Regions from separate parts of the Homo sapiens genome. Here all the other regions are linked to region 2. The links are contacts of gene promoters, found by promoter capture Hi-C in human tissues and cell types (Jung and others, 2019). All regions are on one chromosome and are shown on one strand. Each heading gives the region's core, a stretch centred on a gene start or on the middle of the fragment in contact. The rest is flanking DNA. Distances are from core to core; before and after follow the strand shown.

Region 1 (3,370 bases), core at 395-2,894, 180 kb after region 2:
TCACCTCTTGAAGGCAGCCATGAGCCTTGGGTGGGGACGTCACTAGAGGAAGTTCAGGCCCTATTTTCGGAGGAAGCAGTTGGAGACCCCATAGGAGGAAGGGCGATGGGGCAGTAGAAAGTCGCGGTGTCCCCGCCCCCTCCAGCAGCTACGCGCCCCACTCTCTTGGAGACGCTAGATCAGTCCCTCCGGGCCTACTAAAGAAACCACGCAGGGCTCAGATCCGCTCCATCATCATCATCATCATCATCATCATCATCTCCAGGTTTATTTCCAGCTCCCCCGCAACCCCTCCGGACCTGGAGCCGCCTCCGCCCGCGCTGTGCACGCGCTGCGCGCGACCTCAGGGCTGCACACGACAGCAGCGCGCTCCGGTCCAGTCCATGCCCGCGCACTGGCAGTGACATGTGGTCTCGGCGCGCACATCCCACGAGCCACAGGCGGAGCCACAAGTGCAGCCGGTGACGGCGAAGCCTGCAGCCCGGAACACAGGAGCGTGGACTCTGAGCTGGGAGGCTGAGGGTGGGAGCGGGAGGGGGGTGGGGAGCGCGGAGGGGGGTTGGGGGGGCGGGGGTGGGGACGGGGACGGCTGGAGGCTCCAACCACTGAATGGGCACTGGAGGCAGGGAGTGAGGGTGGACACCAGTGTCCAGATGGTGGGCGGAGAAGGCTGGGAGTCAGGACCAAGATCCTAGGGGAGTAGAGGCTGGACACGGGGAACGTGGCGGGGAGGGGGCATTCCCAGGGGACTTGGAACAGAAATGGGCGCCTGGACAACAGTCTCCTGCACTCACCTCGGGGGCAAGTAGCCAGGTCCCCCCTGGAGGTGACGCTCTGGCACTCCAGGCCAATGCTGCTTATTGCCCTAAATACTGGGGGGCAGGAGGAAAGGAGACAGGGGGAGCTGTGAGACCAAACGGTCCCTCCCCCATCCTCCCCTAGCCCTGTTGGTTTGGAGCTAGGTCCCTGTGGGCATAGGAGCTCACTGGCCTCCAGGACCCTGTCTTGAGTTGGGTGTTTTGGAGTAAGGGAAGGTTTGGAGTGAGAGCGGGGATTGGGTTTGGAGCCGTGGATAAGGTGGGGACAGTCGGAGGGGTTGGGAGTGGAGTTGGGGTTGAATTTATGATCTGGTTGGATTTGAGGATGAGATTTGGTGAGCGCTGGGGCTGGGTTGGAGTCAGGTCTGTGCCAGGGATCAGTGAGGTCTCTGAGACCCTTGGGGAGCTTGCCCAAGTGGGGGGTCCTCACTTAGGGAGCCGGCGACCTCCTGGATCCTCTCATTGATGGCTTCTTCCATGGAGCACAGGGTCTTGCTAGACACCAACAGCCCCAGGACAGGGAGGAGGAGGAGACAGAGAGCTTTCATCCTGCAGGCGCTGAAAGAGGGAACCAAGAGACCCACAGCTGGATCAGCCCTGCCCTGTGGGGAAGATCCGGCCCATGGAGGGAGTAGGATCTGCCCCTGGACCTGGACCCCTGTCCCCCCATGTGGGGGACAGGGATGGAGGCTCAGCCTTGACCCCAGCCTCCCCGCTGGTGCCATGGCAAGCGCAGGAGCAGCTGTCACTTACCCTCTCGGTGGGCTCAGCTAACCAAATCCGGCACACGAATTCCTGCACCGCAGCTCTTTCTTTGAGGCCTCTTGGGGTGGGGCTTCCTGGCTTGGCTAATAAGTCCCTGGGCCCCCAACCCTCCGGTCCCACATCCGGGGCCAAGAGGAAGCCCCTGAGCAGACAGTAAGGGCTGGAGGAGGAAGGGAGCCTTCCCACTTCCAACAGGGCCTCCGTCTTCATGTCCAGAGACTGGTCAGGAGGTGGTGCCCCAGGGATAATGCCAGGGGCTGTGGTCTGAGGAACAGGTAGACAAGCAGAGTTTTGCATGCAAGGGTGGCTGATGCAAACATGACAAAATTAATGCCTCTTGCTAGGCATGGTGCGGACAAGCACTTGTAGTCCCAGCTACTAAGGAGGCTGACGTGAGAGAATTGCTTGAGCCCGGGAGTTCGAAGCTACAGTGACTTATGATCACAGCACTGCACTCCAGTCTGGGCAACAGAGCAAGACCACTTCTCTAAAATAGTAATAATAATTATGTCTCTGGGTGAGAATGACATACCACATTCATACCCAAATGCCCATGAGCAATAGAACTGGTAAATAAAATCATGGTTTATGGCCGGTGGCTCACGCCTGTAATCCCAGCACTTTGGGAGGCCAAGGCGGGCGGATCACTTGAGGTCAGGAGCTTGAGACCAACCTGGCCAACATGATGAAACCCTGTCTCCATTAGACATACAAAAATTAACTGGGCGTGGTGGCGTGTGCCTGTAATCCCAGCTACTTGGGAGGCTGAGGTGGGAGAATCACTTGAACCCGGGATGTGGAGGTTGCAGTGCACTGAGATCGTGCCCCTGCACTCCATCCTGGATGACTAGCTTGGGCACCATAGCAAGACTCCATCTCAAAAAGAAGAAAGAAAAATCATGGTTTATTCCATCAATGGCATCACCTGCAACAGAAGTTGGAAAGCCATTGCTCATGGGCCAAGGTCCAGCTCATGTTTCTTCTTGGACCACCCATGAGCTTGGAATGGTTATTACATTTTTATTTGTTCTTTGTTTCCAGTACAACGGGCCTTTTTGTGGTAAAATACATATAACATACAACTTACCATTATAACTTACTTTTTTCTTTTTTGAGACGGAATCTTGCTCTGTCGCCCAGGCTGGAGTGCAGTGGCGCGATCTCGGCTCACTACAAGCTCCGCCTCCTGGGTTCACGCCATTCTCCTGCTTCAGCCTCCCAAGTAGCTGGGACTACAGGCGCCTGCCACCACGCCCAGCTAATTTTTTGTATTTTTTTTTTTTTAGTAGAGATGGAGTTTCACCGTGTTAGCCAGGATGGTCTCGATCCCCTGACCTTGTGATCTGCCCGCCTTGGCCTCCCAAAGTGCTGGGATTACAGGCGTGAACCACCGTGCCCGGCCTTTTTTTTTTTTTTTTTGAGACGGGGTCTTGCTATGTTGCCCAAGCTAGTGTCAGACTCCTGGCTTCAAGTAATCCTCCCACCTTGGACTCCCCAGTAGCTGAAGCTACAGGTATGCACCATCTTGTTCCATTTTAACCATTGCTTTTGTTTGTTTCTTTGTTTCAGAGTCTCACTCAGTTGCTCAGGCTGGAGTACAGTGGCTCAATCTTGGCTCACTGCAACCTCCACCTCCTGGGTTCAAGCAATTCTCCTGCCTCAGCCTCCCGAGTAGCTGGGATTACAGGCGTGCACCACCATGCCCGGCTAATTTTTTGTATTTTTAGTAGAGATGGGGTTTCACCATGTTGGCCAGGCTGGTCTCAAATTCCTGACCTCAAGTGATC
Region 2 (3,312 bases), core at 108-2,607:
CTTTTGTATTTATTTCTATATTTTTGTAAAGACGGGGTATTGCTATGTTGCCCAGACTGGTCTCCAACTCCTGGCCTCAAGCCACCCTCCCACCTCAGCCTCTCAAAGTGTTGGGATTACAGGTGTGAGCCACTGTGCCGCTGGAGCTGGAATTGAATCCTTGTCTGTTGGACTCCAGTGTTAGCCACTGTGCGGCTCTGCCCCTGAAGAGCATGGAGCCAGGCTGTGTTGGGTTTGTGTCTGTGTCCCTTCCTATCACTGGTGCGCCCTCAGTCTCAGCTGTGACTTTGGCACACAGCAGGTGCTCAATAAATGTTTTTTTTCTTTTCTTTTCTTTTTTTTTTTTTTTTGAGACACAGTCTCACTCTGTCGCCCAGGCTGGAGTGCAACGGTACAATCTTGCCTCACTGTAACCTCCGCCTCCCGGGTTCAAGTGATTTTCCTGCCTCAGCCTCCCGAGTAGCCAGGATTACAGGTGTGTGCTACCACACCCAGCTAATTTTTGTATTTTTAATAGAGACGGGGTTTCACTGCATTAGCCAGGCTGGTCTCGAACTCCTGACCTCAAGTGATCCACCTGCCTCCGCCTCCCAAAGTGCTGGGATTACATGCATGAGCCATCGCGCCCGGCAATAAATGCTTGTTGAGTAAATAACTAAAATCACGTGTAAAGGGAAGAATGCGCAAGGAAGGAGAGAGAAGCTTTGCACACTCAGGAAACCCCCTGACCTGGCAGGGCTGGTGGGCCAGTTGCCCCAGGAACCAGGGGCCCCGGGTGAGTGCCCACACCCTGCCCTACACACCCTGGTGTCTGGGCCCTGCGTGCTCCATCTTTCCCCAGAGGGCGGTCCCCTTGCGGGGTCCTCCACTGCAACCTTCTTGGAATTCCTCCAGCCCCCAAGGCACGCTGCTGCCCTGGGCCTTTAGCCCTCGACACCCTGGGCCCGGAGCCTCTGCCCAAGTCAGCCTTGCCCACCGCGTGCACATCCTTGTCCAGAGCATTTAGAGTCCGCACTCTAGTTCAGTGGTTTATTGATTGCTTCCCCATGACGCTGGGCGGCCCAGCGGGGCAGGGACCTTGACTGTCTTGGTTACCGCGGCGTCAGGCGGGGGAGGCGCTCACAGCTGGCCTAACAGGTGAAGGACGGCGCAGGTGGGCGGAGGCCTGTCCGCCAAGGACCGCCGGGTCCGCCTGTGCGCTGGGAAGGCCCGCCCCCTAGCGGCCGATCTTTAGAGTACGGAGGGCAGCCCCCAAAGGCCTCCCATCCCTGTCCCCGCCCCTGGGCCCCTGGACTCACTTTGATCTCGATCTGCTCCTCCATCTCCTTGCTCTTCATGGCTGCGTACTCCTTCTCCAGCCTGCAGATCGGGAGGGCCCCGTGGTTACTGTCATGCCCTCGGGGGTCCCCCCTTCTTACCAGTACCCTGGTTGCCCAGCAGGCACCGACCTCTTCATCTTCTTGGGGTTGTACTTGACCTGGTAGGCTTTGAGGACCAGCTTGTCCGGGCAGCTGTCGAACTGGTGGGGGATCACTCTCTGGAAGTACTGTGGGGACACAGCCGGTCACCTGGTCACCAACATGCAGGCCCTGACCACCGGGGGCCGCCCGAGCCCTGTTGCCCTGGAGGGGGGCAGGAACGGGTCTGCCCGGGGTGTCGCCATGTCCTCAACGCCGTGTCCTCAGTGTTTGTGGAGCAATGGAAAGACTGAGCGTGAGGGGAGGGAATGGGGGACTGCCTGCAGCCAAAGCCTTAGTTTCCAGAAGAAAAGCTGGCAGATGCTGGATGTGGTGGCTCATTCATATAATCCCAATGATTTAAAAGCCTGAGGTGGGAGAAATAAATAGCTTGAGCCCAGGAGTTTGAGACCAGTGTGGGCAACATAGTGAGACCCCATTTCTGAAAAAAAAAAATTAGCTGGACATGGTGATGTACACCTCTGGTTCCAGCTACTCAGGAGGCTGAGGCGGGAGGATCGCTTCAGCCCAGGAGGTGGAGGCTGCAGTGAGCTAGGACTGCACCACTGTACTCCAGCCTGGGCCACAGAGCAACTCCGACTTAAAAAAAAAAAGAAAAAGGTAAAAGAAAAAAAGAAAAGCAGGCCAAGGAGGCTCTCCTGGGAGTGAAGGCTGAGGGTCGGGGGGTCTGACAGAGGGGACCTTCGTGGGGGAAGGAGGATGGGTATGCCGGGGGCCTCGGGCCTGTGCAAAGGGTTAAGGTAAGCCCAGGGGGGACACAGCTCCTGCACCCGGCCCAGCTGGCCCCCTCTGGTAGCTGTGGACAATGCCTGCCCATGTTCACGGACACAACCGTGGCCTTTGTGCATTCTTCCCTGAAGCACCAGCTGGAGGACGCGGGGAGGGGGCAGGGGCCCGCACAGCAGAGAAGTAGCGGTGGGAGGCAGGCTGGCCAGCAGCAGGGCCTCCAGGCAGGCCGGGCTGGGGCGGGGCAAGGCGTGAGGTTGCCTAGACCCCCAAACTCCCTCCTGTGCCCTCACCAGGCTGGGCGGCAGGGTGGGGATGCCCTCATGGTCAGTCAGTCATGATCTGCCATCAGGCTTTGGGGCATCTGCGGGGTTGGGGGCAGGAGGTGGGCAGTGGGGCTCCCAGGGCTCAGCCTGGGCCTCCTGTCTCCCTGCGGCCAGGCTGCTGGCCCCTGACTGTGTCTGGCAGAGCCTAGGGGGTCCTCTGGTCCCTTAGGGAGACCTCAGGGGAACAGAGTGGATGGGAACAGATCAGGGATGTCAGGCACACCACCTTCCACCCTCGAAGCCGGGCCCTCTCTGTCACTTGTGAGGGCATCCTGTGACTCGAAGCCCCTGATTGGGGGCAGCCCCACCGGCCCTGGCCCTCCCGGCCCACCTGGGACATCCCCTCCATGTCCAGCTGCATCAGCTCTGCCTGGTTCACCTGCAGCAGGGCGAGGCCCACTCGGAACACGATCTCCAGCCCCTGCAAAGGCGGCAAAGGCAGTGGGAGGTGGAGGGCAGGGAGGCTCCTGTTCCAACCACCCCCAAGGGGCTCTCTTCCCTCCCCAGGCACCATCGGTCCTCACCTCATACATGAAGATGTCAAAGACCCGGGTGGCGACGGGGAGTGGGAAGGTGGTCAGGAACAGTGTGAGGAACCAGGACGAGGCATACATGGATGTGTGGAAGCTTTGGGAACGGAAGTGGGTGTTGAGGTCTGGGAGCTGCTCCTGCAGGGGTGGGAGGCCGGGTGGGCACAGTGAGGGGGACGCCCTCCCACCGGGGGGTGCTGGGCCTCAGTGTCCCCGCCTCCAGGGAGCCTTCCTGGACCTGCGCTGGGCAGC
Region 3 (3,245 bases), core at 242-2,741, 150 kb after region 2:
CAGCTGTGGGGATGGGGAGAAGCAGGTTATTTTTTTGAGACGAGCCAGGCGCGGGTGCTGGGTGAGCGGTGGGGTGGAAGATCGGGAAGTGCTTGGACAAGGCCTGGACCTGGGCCGGGGTGTCTGGGTGGATGGACGGACTGTCCCACCAATGGGGACACACGAGGAGAAGGAGGAGGAAGCTTGGGAATAAGTCCAGCTGGGCCATGTTGTGAGGACATGGGGATGAAGTCTTAGTTCCAGGATGGGGCTGGGATGGAGTTTGGTGTTTCTTTTCTGTTTTTCTTTCTTTTTTCTTTTCTTTTTTTTTTTTGTGAGACAGAGTTTAGCTTTTGTTGCCCAGGCTGGAATGCAATGGCGCGATCTCGGCTCACCGCAACCTCTGCCTCCCGGATTCAAGCGATTCTCCTGCCTCAGCCTCCCGAGTAGCTAGGATTACAGGTGCCCACCACCATGCCCAGCTAATTTTTTTTTTTTTTTTTTTTTTTTTGTATTTTCAGTAGATACAGGGTTTCACCATGTTGGCCTTGAACTCCTGACCTCAGATGATCCACCTGCCTCGGCCTCCCAAAGTGCTGGGATTACAGGCGTGAGCCACTGTGCCCGGTCTCTCTCTCTCTCTTTCTCTCTCTCTTTCTTTCTTTCATCTCACTGTGTTGCCCAGGCTGATCTTGAACTCCTGGGCTCAAGTGATCCACTCACCTCTGCCTCCCCAGTAGCTGGGATCACAGGCATGCACCACCATGCCCTGCTAGTTTTTATAGTTTTTGTAGAGACAACGGCTTGCTATGTTGTCCAGGCTGGTCTTGAACTCCCAGGCTTAAGTGATCCTCCCACCTCAGCCTCCCAAAGTGCTGGGATTACAGGCGTGAGCCACCGTGCCCAGCCAAAACTGTCCATATTTGACCTGAATATTATCTCACGTATCTTTCTTTCCCCCCGCTTCCCTCCTTCCCTCCTACTCCTCCTTCTCCCTCTCCTTCCTTCTGTCTTTTTTTTCCCCTTCCTCTGCCTCTCTCTCCTCTTCCCTTTTTTCTTGCTGGGACTCAAACCTGGGACATTTGACCTGGGAGCCTATTTGCTCAATCATCAAGAGACATAATCTCATGGTGGGGTGTCTGCTGGTAAGTGCCGGGTGGCAGGATCCCAACTCCAGGCCGTCCTTCTAACCCAAGAGGCCCTGCCTCTGCCTAGAGCCTTCCGTGGCTCCCCAGGGCCCTCTGTGATCGGCCATAGTGGTATGATTCAGTGTGCAGTAACAGTGGTTCACATCTTGACGCTACCACTCACCTCCTTCAGCCCTGTGGGAACTTGCTGCTTAACATCTCTAGTTCTCACCCAATTCTCTTACCTGAGAAATGGAGATAATAATAACACGGACTTCACCCGGGTGTGGGGAGCACCAGGAGAGGCCATGCGTGTAATGTTATCCGGGTGGCAAGCCCATATTTAGGTCTATGAAAATAGAAGCTGTCAGTGGCTCTACTTTCAGAAGAAAGTGTCTCTCTTCCTGCTTAAACCTCTGTCTCTGACGGTCCCTGCCAATCGCTCTGGTCGACCCCAACACACTAGGAGGACAGACACAGGCTCCAAACTCCACTAAGTGAGTACGTATCTGGTGTGTTGGGGGTTGGCCATGGGAAGTGGAGATCAAAGCGCCCTTGGAAGAAACGACCTTGGGCTGAGCCTCAAGGGATGACCAGCAGGAGGTCACAACCAGAGAAGGGAGGTGGTGGGTGGTGAGGGGGCGGGGGTGGGGGCCGCAGTGTGGACAGAATCTCGAGGCATTCGAGTCCCTGATTTGGGGAAGTGAAAGCAGGCCATCTGGTCTGAGATGAGCTTGGTGAGTGCGCTGGGCCGATCATAGAGGGCCCTGGGGAGCCATGGAAGACTCTAGGCAGAGGCAGGACCTCTTGGGTTAGAAGGACGGCCTGGAGTTGGGATCCTGCCACCCAGCACTTACCAGTAGACACCCCACCATGAGATTATGTCTCCAGATGATTGAGCAAATGGGCTCCCAGCTCAAGGGTCCCGGGTTTGAGTTCCAGTCCCACCACTGCGTGATGGGGACAAATGACTTACCCTCTTGGAACCTCAGTTCCACTGAGAGAGGCCCCACAGAATGAGGACAGTCCCCCAGCATCCTGCCAGTAGGTTTACTGAGCACCTACTGTGTGCTGGTGCTTTGAATACTCCCAATTTACAGATGAGCAAACTGAGCTGCTCATCCAGGAAGAAGCCAGGACTCGGACTCAGGTCTGTCCAGCTGCCTCCCTGGACAGTTCCAGTCCCAGGATGGTCTCTGGGTTCCTCTCACAATGTCAAAAGGGCCAGCTTGAGCTGCCGCTAATCAGAGCCTGGCCGCGCCACACCCCACCTCCCTGAGGCTCCGAGAGAAGGGACTTACCTATAGTCAAGCAGCGAAAGAAGGTAGCCCGTGACCTCCAGGCCTGAAGGACCCCAAGTCCCATGCTCCTCAGCACATAGTAGATGCTTTAAAGTCAGAGGACTTGGTCGGGCGCAGTGGCTCACGCCTGTAATCCTAGCACTTTGGGAGGCTGAGGAGGGCAGATCACCTGTGGTCAGGAGTTCGAGACCAGCCTGATCAATATGGTGAAACCCTGTCTCTACTAAAATACAAAAATTAGCCAGGTGTGGTGGTGGGTGCCTGTAGTCCCAGCTACTTGGGAGGCTAAGACAGGAGAATCGCTTGAACCCGGGAGGTGGAGGTTGCAGTGAGCCAAGATGGTGCCATTGCACTCTAGCCTGGGTGACAGAGCGAGACTCCATCTCAAAAAATAAAAAAATAGGCCATGCACAGTGGCTCACGCCTGTAATCCCAGCACTTTGGGAGGCCGAGGCGGGCGGATCATGAGGTCAGGAGTTTGAGACTAGCCTGGCCAACATAGTGAAAACCCGTCTCTACTAAAAATACAAAAATTATCTGGTCATGGTGGCACGTGCCTATAGTCCCAGCTACTCGGGAGGCTGAGGCGGGAGAATCGCTTGAACCCAGGAGGTGGAGGTGGCAGTGAGCCGAGATCGTGCCCCTGCACTCCAGCCTGGGCAACAGAGCGAGACTCCATTTCAATAAATAAATAAATAAATAAATAAAGTCAGAGCACTTTACAGATGCCCTGGGGACATTGGCAGAGGAGAAGGCTGAGGCCTGGGTTATGGGCTCTTAGCATTTCTCAGTGGGACGTGGCACAGAGTAGATGTTTCATAAATGTTTAGAATCCGAA

The links. The method cuts DNA at HindIII sites, captures the fragments that hold promoters and counts their contacts. A contact is called where the count stands out against the background at its distance.
Region 1: a contact is called between the fragment with the promoter of RETN here and a fragment that was not itself captured in region 2, in 1 of the 25 tissues and cell types used here (lymphoblastoid cells).
Region 3: a contact is called between the fragment with the promoter of FCER2 here and a fragment that was not itself captured in region 2, in 1 of the 25 tissues and cell types used here (lymphoblastoid cells).

What each region holds. Positions count from the first base shown.
Region 1 is chr19:7,667,323-7,670,692 of GRCh38, reverse strand. It overlaps RETN (resistin), which reads right to left and starts at 1,644. Exons shown (of 4, transcript NM_020415.4): 1 at 1,572-1,644; 2 at 1,249-1,376; 3 at 795-872; 4 at 238-474. The coding sequence starts at 1,366. The coding sequence ends at 344. The HindIII fragment of the contact is 23,719 bases long and covers 1-3,370 here.
Region 2 is chr19:7,851,320-7,854,631 of GRCh38, reverse strand. It overlaps EVI5L (ecotropic viral integration site 5 like), which reads right to left. Exons shown (of 20, transcript NM_001159944.3): 7 at 3,055-3,198; 8 at 2,862-2,951; 9 at 1,449-1,546; 10 at 1,299-1,359. Among named protein-coding and RNA genes, the nearest start is that of PRR36, 21 kb to the left of the region's middle. The HindIII fragment of the contact is 4,759 bases long and covers 1-3,312 here.
Region 3 is chr19:7,700,377-7,703,621 of GRCh38, reverse strand. It overlaps FCER2 (Fc epsilon receptor II), which reads left to right and starts at 1,491. Exons shown (of 11, transcript NM_001220500.2): 1 at 1,491-1,607. LOC105372262 (a long non-coding RNA gene) reads left to right here. Exons shown (of 5, transcript XR_936296.2): 5 at 501-542. RefSeq lists an enhancer at 1,495-1,604. The HindIII fragment of the contact is 10,644 bases long and covers 1-3,245 here.